2 separate regions of the Homo sapiens genome follow, and region 1 is linked to region 2. Evidence: promoter capture Hi-C in 16 types of primary human blood cells and fetal thymus (Javierre and others, 2016). All regions are on one chromosome and are shown on one strand. The core of a region is centred on a gene start or on the middle of the fragment in contact, and the rest is flanking DNA. Distances in the headings are between cores, read along the strand shown.

Region 1 (4,861 bases), core at 1,388-3,887, 62 kb after region 2:
TTAATATTTTTCTAAATTATCTACTAGACCTCCTTGACTGTCCTTTTCAGAAAATGCCCTCATCTGCTACTTGACATAGAAATAGTGACCATCAGGCATAAATTCCCTCATCTTCTTGCTTGTCCTCCAACAAATACACTGGTACCCATCCATCTATCTCAGAAAAAAAATTTATCTTCCCACTGAAAAACTCCAAAATTTCCATCCCTAGTGTGGATATCACCCCCTGTTATGTCCTAAAGAATCATCATCTCTAGCTATTCCACTTCTATTATCATTTTTCCTCTAACATTTTCCCTCCAATGTTTCTCTTCTCTTGTATATAATAATCTCAAGCCACTCTTGCTTCCCAGATTTCTATTATTTCTTTTTCCTGCTCTTTAAAACAGAGTTGTCTCTTTTTAATTTTTAGACCTTGAGGTGCCCGATAGGATTATTCACAATATTTCATTCATAAGACGCTTTTATCATTGCTCCAAGAACTTCTGTTTATTTATTTAGTTACTCACTTTGTTAGTTGTAACCCAAAACTATAGCTAGGACCATAACCATTACATTTATCTACTTGTATATTTCACTCCTTCCCGTCCTCCTACCTCATTCAAAAATGTAACTATCATACCGAATCCTATGTGATGAATTCCCTTGATTTATTTTATACATACTTTATTGCTTTGTTATTCCTTAAAATTATTTTTTGTTTTTAATGTTTTAACTTTATAAAATTGTATGACATTGTACAGAAAATTTGGTTTTTATTTTCACCTCATATTGTCATGCTCCTCTGGGAGAATCAAGGAGGTGAAGTAGATAATTTACGTAAATATTATCCTACCCCTCCTCTGCTACTTCACATAAAACTAGTGGCTATCAGGCATAAATCCCCTCACCTTCTTGCTTATTTATACTAGGGCTGAAATCAACACTGGGGTGGGAGTTTCAGACTTGTTCAGTGGGAAGAGAAATTTTTTTCTGAGACAGATGGATGGGTCCCTGTGTATTTGTTGGAGGATTTGCAATCATTATCCCATTAATGGTTATTTGGATAGTTTCGAGATGTTTCAAATTGTTAACAGCACTGCTGTAAATATTCCTGTAAATTTGCATTGTTGTACTTATGCAAATATTTCTCTTGGATATGTAGTTAGAATTCCTGAGCCATGTTCAGCTTTAGAAGATAAAATCAAACTGTTTCCCAAAGTGGTTGTATCAATTTATATTTCCTTTAATAACATATAAGAATCATATAAGGCCGGGCACAGTGGCTCACGCCTGTAATCCCAGCAATTTGGGAGGCTGAGGCGGGTGGATCATTTGAGGTCAGGAGTTCAAGACCAGCCTGACCAACATGGTGAAACCCCATCTCTACTAAAAATACAAAAATTAGCTGGGCATGGTGGCGTATGCCTGTAGTCCCAACTACTTGGGAGGCTGAGACAGGAGAATCACTTGAACCTGGGAGGTGGAGGTTGCAGTAAGCTGAGATAGTCCCATGGCACTCCAGCCTGGGTGACAGAGCGAGACTCCATCTCAAAAAAGATAAATAAATAAAAGAAGAAGAAGAATCATGTAGCTCTCCATACTTTCAATGCTTGGTAAATTTTTTTTCTTAGCCATAATTTAAAAAATAATTTTTTTGAACTCAGTGTCTCTGTTTCCTAATTGGCCAATAGGTTTTAGCCATTGCAATCTACTTTCACCATAGCTTACTCTCCCAGATACTCTACTATATTGGGTTCCCTCCTACTTGTCTCATCAAAATATCATTTTTTTTTGCTATTTACTCATATTTTATTTCTAAATGTTGACTTATCCTAAAGATCATCATTCTGACCCCTTCTCTTCTAACATAATATAATACTCCCTGATGTTACAAAGCTTTTTTTGTCATCTGGCTCTCCTTTCCTTACAATGTTTTCAAATACTTATTATATTAATTGATAATTCCACAATTTATATATCCAGTCTAGGTATCTCTCTTGATCTCAGACATTTAATCCTTCCATATACATGCCAATGGTCTATGTCTGCTACTAAAAGCTCACTCTGGAGACACAGACCAATTCTTTCTGGTTGTCTCCAGTGATATACCACAAAGCACCTAAATCATCACCATTATCACAACAAACATAGTTTAATGTTCTTCTTGTGTTTTCTATAACATTTAATAGAATTATATCCATCAAGGTGTGAAGGCTGATATGATATGAAATTATGGATTTCCTCCTCTCCCTCAACCACTGAATCCAATGCAGATTCCTGCAATTCTACGTTGTAAATATTTCTCATATAGGTTTCCTACCCATCATTGCTTTTTTTCATGATGCCAGTTTAGACAGTCATTGTCACTAACCTTGACTCCTAAAACAATTTCCTTTACATCCCCCCACCCACTTTCTAGGCTACTCAGATTGACCTCTCTAAAATCCATATCTGCTCATGTAACATGAGTCATATTGGTCCTTCACTTAAAATCATCTAATCGTTTTCTTTGCCTTTAGGGGAAATCTAAAAATTTTTAACATAGTGCAAAAGACCCTCATGAAGCTTCATACCTGTCCAAATCAATTTCTAGCCACATTTTTTATTACCCAAGAACTATTTGCAATTATAATACCTAAATCTGCCCTTTATTCATATTCTTCACTCCATCTACATTAGTCTTGTTTACCTTCAGCCCCCCAATTCCTGCTTGTCCTCTACTTCACATCAATTATGATCTACAGGGAAGCTTTTATGACCTCAAGATGTTATATGACATTCATCTGATCCTTTCATGATACGATTACAGCACTAGCAGTATTTTATATTTCAATCTGCTTCACTTAAAAAAAACTTCTCCTTTCAACTGAGCTCATTGAAAGCTGATAATTTAAAAAAAAATTCTGTATCATCGGTGCCATATATAGTTCCTGACCTATAGAAGATACCCAAAGTTGTTTGTTGAATGAATGAACCAAATAATTAATAATAATCAGAATAAAGATATTGAAAGAAAGTGTAGAGGACAGTTTTGTAAAAACTGATGTGAAATATATCAAAACTGGTATATTTCAGTTTATTACCCAGGAATTGTTGGCAATTATAATACCCAAATCTGTCCTTTATTCATGTTCTTCACTCTATAACTCTAGTAACATTTTATTTGTATAGAAAGGACATCAAATTTATTCTCTTTGTGATTTAAGCAGTATTTCAGTAAGATAAAAATGTAATAATCAAAGATTCTCCCAACTCACTGGTCATATGCAAACCCCATTTTACACACAAAAAAACTTAGTGTTATTTTATATATAATATACGTATACACACACACATACTAACTTATACTAGTATACTACATGTATATATATGTGTGTGTATACATGGGTACACTATGTCTGTGTGTATATTATATACATACTACATACATACTAATTTATACTAGTATATATATATTAGCTTATTTTTAGTATAAAATAAGTGTTAGTATACATATGTAAAATAGGTGTTAGTATATATATACACTAACATATTTTTAAATTTTATTAAAATAAATTATTTTAAAATTTTATTTTTAAAATTTCACTGGTAAGTAAAGTGTAGTGTATCTGAAATTTTTGTGTAATCACAGCTATATGCTCTTTTGTGTGGCTAAATGATAAACAAAAACTAAATGATAACAACATAATAAAATCATTTTCATCAATATCATCAGTACCATTATGATTGCTAACATGTCTCTAGAACCTTATAGTTTACAAAGTTTCGTAGAGGTTCCACAGTTATAGTGTCTCATTTTTCATCCTGTCTTATTGCTATCATATGAAATATGTGTAGCTGATACTCATGCATATATCGTAAGCCTGCAAATGCCAGCCAGCAACTCCCAGGGTTACTGCAACAGTATGCCATAAAAAGTCTATACAAAATCAAAAGGCAGAATATATAGTGAGCATGACAAAGCCCTCAGAATTAGAGCAAAATGAATATTTATTGTAGAGTTTAAGATTAAAATCACTATGCTGATCACAAATCTCATAAAATATTACACATAAATACACCTCTCAATATGTAAAGAAGGAGATATGCAAACAGGGACAATTTGACTTCCTCTTTTCCTAATTGAATACCCTTTATTTCCTTCTCCTGCCTAATTGCCCTGGCCAGAACTTCCAACACTATGTTGAATAGGAGTGGTGAGAGAGGGCATCCCTGTCTTGTGCCAGTTTTCAAAGGGAATGCTTCCAGTTTTTGCCCATTTAGTATGATATTGGCTGTGGGTTTGTCATAGATAGCTCTTATTATTTTGAGATACGTCCCATCAATACCTAATTTATTGAGATTTTTTAGCATGAAGAGTTGCTGAATTTTGTCAAAGGCCTTTTCTGCATCTATTGAGATAATCATGTGGTTTTTGTCTTTGGTTCTGTTTATATGCTGGATTACATTTATTGATTTGCGTATATTGAACCAGCCTTGCATCCCAGGGATGAAGCCCACTTGATCATGGTGGATAAGCTTTTTGATGTGCTGCTGGATTCGGTTTGCCAGTATTTTATTGAGGATTTTTGCATCAATGTTCATCAAGGATATTGGTCTAAAATTCTCTTTTTTGGTTGTGTCTCTGCCCGGCTTTGGTATCAGGGTGATGCTGGCCTCATAAAATGAGTTAGGGAGGATTCCCTCTTTTTCTATTGATTGGAATAGTTTCAGAAGGAATGGTACCAGTTCCTCCTTGTATCTCTGGTAGAATTCAGCTGTGAATCCATCTGGTCCTGGACTATTTTTGGTTGGTAAGCTATTGATTATTGCCACAATTTCAGAGCCTGTTATTGGTCTATTCAGAGATTCAACTTCTTCCTGGTTTAGTCTTGGGAGG
Region 2 (5,382 bases), core at 1,596-4,095:
TAATTCCCAGGATCCCAACAATGAGCTTCTCTGGAGCTGATGGTAAATCTGCAGGGAGAGAAATGGGAACAGTGCGAAAGGAGAGGTGGATACAGTCGTTTAGAAGATTCACAGACAAGAGAACCTGAATGCACAGGAATCATACAGAGAAACTTGGACCCCAAACCCTCATCTCCCATTGTAATCTTTTTCTCAGAATAATATACCATTGAATTTTCAGGAAAAATAATGCTCCATGAATTATTTGACAAAGACTACAAACTTCAACAATGAGTTCAATCAGTCTTCATACTTTACATTGAAATAGCATATCTCAACTTGGAATTCTGATCTTTGCAAATAGAAGATATATGAGCACTCCCTTCTCTTTCCCCACATTCCTGTACCCCAAGCTGCACATCCTAGACTGTTATATTGAGGATCTTTTAAATGCTTTACCTTTGCAGTGATAGGTTTTGTCATTCCCTTGAAAATCCTGAGAAGCTTTTTGAAGGTTTAATTCCGCATAGGTTATTTCCTGTTCAGTTGCTAAAATGGAGTTTTTATTGCCTTTAGGTTTTCGTTGCTGCCTCTTTGGGTTTGGGGGCAGATTCAGGTCTGAGTAGATTACTCCTTGGTTATCCATCTCTGCAGTGTGTGATGTCAGGGACTGTACTCTATAATAACAGTAGTTAAGAAGTTAATAAATGGTTTATATACAGGATTCCCTAGTGCAATTAAAAGGGTGAGGTGGAGAACGAGTATTGGAGCTCATTTTGCATTAAATAATCTAAAGTTCTTTCTCTGATTTTCTTCAAGCCTAAACACGTTTCTTATGAATATTTGTTTTAAAAAAAGATTTTTAGGCCGGGCGCGGTGGCTCACGCCTGTAATCCCAGCACTTTGGGAGGCCGAGGCATGCCGATCACGAGGTCAGGAGATCGAGACCATCCTGGCTAACACGGTGAAACTCCGTCTCTACTAAAAATACAAAAAGTAGTCGGGCATGATGTCAGGCGCCTGTAGTCCTAGCTACTCGGGAGGCTGAGGCAGGAGAATCTCTTGAACATGGGCGGCAGAGGTTGCAGTGAGCGGAGATTGTGCCACTGCACTCCAGCCTGGGCGACAGAGTGAGACTCCGACTCAAAAAAAAAAGATAAATTTTCTGCATTTGACAAAATATTATTGCTGGGGCAATGAGAAGCAATAAATTACTAAGGAATAAAGAAGTTCAGGAATAAAAATATATTTCTTAAAGTCTGATGTTTTACCTGTGTTAAAAATTAAAATGTTGTATTAGAAAAACTTCTGCACTCATTTTTATGTTAATTTTGAAATCCAGTAATGGTTAAGACTATGTGGTCTGCACATGAGTAATAGTAAAGTTGACATATATATATATAAAAATTTCTTGCACTACATTACTTTTAATTAGTAATTTATACACATTAATGAAAATCAATAGAGGTAATTAAATGGTCTTTTCTTAATGGCTGAAATGTTCTAAGAAATTATTAAAAATTATTTATTAAAAATTATAAAAAATTAAATATTTGTATATGACAGAAAATGCTATGTGACACAGTTAACTTATGCATAACCTAAATAGTATTAGGAACACTACATAAATTGTTAATACTTACAGAAGTATTGGTAATTTAATTAGTAATTGGTAATTTATTTCCTGGCTAAATTATGAACCAAAAAATGATAAATAAAAGTATAGGTAATTCATGTTAAAGCACATTTCATTTAAACTTATAGAATGATTTTATGGTTGTCAAAGTGAGTAAAGGCCACTTTAGTTGTATAAGTACTTGTAAAATTTCAGATAATGTAATTAAATCATTTAGTCAATGGGCTCTGGAGTCAGTGAGATCTAGAATTAATTCTAGCTTTGACACTTATAATGTGCGACCTTTAAAAAGTTATTCTATTTTTAATAACCCAGTTTGTTAATCTAAAATGGGCATAAGAACATATAAAACGTTGCATGTAAAACATTTACCACTCAACCTGGCACTTAAAGTTCTCAATAAGCATTAGCTACTTTAATTATTATTTTAGTCACAATTGTTATGTTACTGTTTCTGATTCATGTCAGTTAAAGCATGGAAAATAAATCTTCAGATAAGTCTCCTATGTCCATGCGCTACATCTTTTTTTGCAATATTTTGATCAATTTTTAAAAAGTATTTTTATTGCTTTGTAATACCTTTAGCATTTTATGTAATCTACCTCATTCTGATTTTTATTAAAAATAAAAACTGCTTTTCTCTAATCTACGTGTCTGAGGAATTGTATTTGGCTTTCATCAATTGATTGATTTATTTTAATAATCTTTAATGGCTAAGCTAAATATAAATTATTATTCAAAGATACATGATGTACTGATTACAAAATACAAAATTAATTGTTCATTATTGTGATGTTAATAGCTTTCCCTTAAACGATATTGATCAACAAACCCACTAGATTTCCACAAACAATAATTTGAAAACTTTAAGAAATCCTTCAACATATTTCATATTTTAGGTTTTTACCCTGAGTTATTCAAATGAAGACAGCAATATTCTACTTTGATTTTATTGTATATTAATTATACCTCCTTTGTATCATATTGAGCACTTGAAATCACCCACTAAATGAGGTAGGCTAGTAGAGAGTTGGAGAGTAGCAATACATACCTTCTGTCCCCAGAAAGTCACACATCCTTTAGTGGAGAGGCCAGGTTAGTCTCATAAAAAGGCCTGCTATAGCTGTGTAATAAAAGGTGAAATTTAAAGGCATAAATCCAAGACAAGAACAAACAATGCCTGCAATCTTCGCAGACTGCCCTGTGAAGGCTCAGAGTGAGTCAAGAGTGGAAAAAGTAGATTTCTCATCAACGTGTTACTAAGGTTTGAACAGGAAATTCTACACATGGGCTATTGTGAAATCAGTTTTATCTCATCACACACCTCCAAAATATAGGATACTTGGTCTATTAAAAGTACAAGGTTGACTTTGAAAGTGTGTCATTTAGTTGGTTCATTTTTCAAGTGCCTATGAGAATTTTTTTTTTTTCTGTCTTGATCACGAACATTGTCAACCCTCACCTTGTTAAGAGTGCCTTTTAGACTAGGTTGCTAAATCTTAACATTGCATACTTCTTTTCTTTATATTATTTTATTATGTCACTTCCATTATAATAGAAAACATTCTAAAACTCATAGTAATATTATCAACTGATATCTACTGATTTTTTCCTTAATTATTCTGAAAAATTACTGCAGTAATTACTCAATTGATTGTAGCTGGCACAAAAAGCATCATTGCCAAAGTTATATTATTAACTTCTCTTAGTTCTTAAATTTTTGCACTTAATTTTTAAAAATAGATTATTTAATCTTCAGATTACCCTTGATAAAAATATCTTGGATAGGTAAAATATTAATCAATTTTGAAATATATTAGCATACCAGAAATTGAAATATTAAATAGCTATTCATTACATTCTTCATTTATTCATCCTCCGCCATAACAAATTATGTCGACTTTCATAGAAATATTTAGTTGTAAATGACAAAAACTGAAGTCAAACTATGTATGGGGAAAAAGTAATTTTAAAATCTTACTAGGAGGAAAGTCAGTAAATTGGCAGAATAGGTGGTCCCCCACACATATGCCCCCACAGCAACAATAATTTTTCAGCCATCCACAGACAAAAGTTCCTTTGAGGGAGTTTGGAATTCAAGTAGGAGTTTGTAAAATGCCAGTGGAACCCAAGACCTAGGAAGGTTGTTTTAGGGAATAGATTTGCATCCAAGTGGCAGACTTACCAACAGTGATTCCATCTCCAGACCTGAAAAGGGACCCATCCTCCTGTGCTTGCCTTCAGCCCCATTTAGGCCTTGGTCATGCTGCCAAAACCATTTGCCCAGGGGCCCAGGAGGAGACTCACACACTAGTGTCTCAGGAGGTAGGCATATCAACTGTAGTCTCAATGTAGACCCTGAAACAGCCCTCTAACTTGGCTTTAACTAGTGTCAGCCACAACTTGAGATCAGTCCTTCACCCACAGAGACTTCCTGGGAGACATATACATCTGTACCTCTGGGGCATGCTTGCTGACCTCTGTCCTACAGAAGATACTAAAATGGCCCTGAATCTCCACTCAAACTCCTCTCAACTGTGACCTGAGTTAATCACAGGAAATTGCTGTGAGACTCAATCATCTTTGTCAGCAGTACAGGCTTGCTGACTTCAGTTCCACGGTAGTTTCTGAAACAGCCTTGAATCTTGACCTTCACCCTTCTCAGCTGTGGACTGTGAGCAGTCTTGCCAGCTCAGGGATACAGAGGGAGGACATGTGCATCCATGTCCCAACTAGGAGACCATTGACCTAGGTTTCACAGCAGATCCTTTAATTGGACAGAAAAGGGGCTTCGACACTTCTCAGCTATGCTAGAGAGCAGTTTGCCCATACAGGGACCTGGAGAGAGACATCATTAGTGCCCCTGCAGGCACAGACCTTAGTTTTATTTCAGATCTTGAAACAATTCTGGATCCAGCTCCAGCCCAACTCAACTACAGTCTGAGGCAAATCTGCCTGCCCACAGACCTGCCAGAAAACACACTCAACCATGACCCCAGAGACAGACATGAAGACACTGGTTTCAGCTATAGACCCCGAGGAAACCTTGTGACTTAGCACTAACTCCTCTGTGCCACAGGTTGAGGAACCCACTCAGAGACCCATGAGCAGCCTTCCCAGCAAACTAGATAAACTCTTCCCCAACTACACACCTAATAATAGACCCACCATTTACAGACCTTGAAGTGGACCCTCATCCCCTCCCCAGCCCTATACAGTATGATTCTAGAGCCAGTTTGGCCCTCTGAGGCACTAAATAGGATACAAGCCTGCTAGAAGCCCTAGTAAAAGGATCATGAACCAAAGATCCCACTCTGGACCCGTAAGCAACCATGTGATCTGGCTGTAACCCCATTCAACCATGATACTGAAGGCAATCTCATCAGCCCAGGACACTAACAGGAGAAGCTTTTAACCTACCGAAACCAGTCTGTAAAGACTGAAAGAGAGTCTGCTCTTTCAAATGCACAGACATCAGTACAAGGATAAACAAATAACAAAGCATCAGACAAATATGACACCACCAAAGGAAACTAATAAAGCTTTAGCAACTGATCCAAATAAATGGAGATCTATAAGTTTCCTTTAAAGTAATTCAAAACAATCATCTTAAAAAATCTCAGTGAGATGCAAAAGAAAAGAGTAAACAAAAAATACAACTAAAACAAAAAATACATGAACAAAATAAAAATTTAATAAAGAAATATAAACTATTAAAAAGAACCAAACAAAAATTCTGGAGCTGAAGAACACAATGAAAGAAATAA

What was found. Contacts are between HindIII fragments. The CHiCAGO score rates a contact against its expected background, and 5 or more counts as called.
Region 1: a fragment that was not itself captured here is called in contact with the fragment with the promoter of KLRC1 in region 2 in 1 of 17 cell types (total CD8 T cells); the score reaches 5.1 in total CD8 T cells.

Annotation. Positions count from the first base shown.
Region 1 is chr12:10,512,483-10,517,343 of GRCh38, forward strand. All of the region lies in intron 3 of LOC105369657 (a long non-coding RNA gene), which reads right to left. It also overlaps a transcript of EIF2S3B not described here. Among named protein-coding and RNA genes, the nearest start is that of EIF2S3B, 9.0 kb to the left of the region's middle. The HindIII fragment of the contact is 184 bases long and covers 2,546-2,729 here.
Region 2 is chr12:10,450,532-10,455,913 of GRCh38, forward strand. KLRC1 (killer cell lectin like receptor C1) reads right to left here and starts at 2,846. Exons shown (of 7, transcript NM_002259.5): 1 at 2,667-2,846; 2 at 439-656; 3 at 1-48. The coding sequence starts at 625. The HindIII fragment of the contact is 4,540 bases long and covers 482-5,021 here.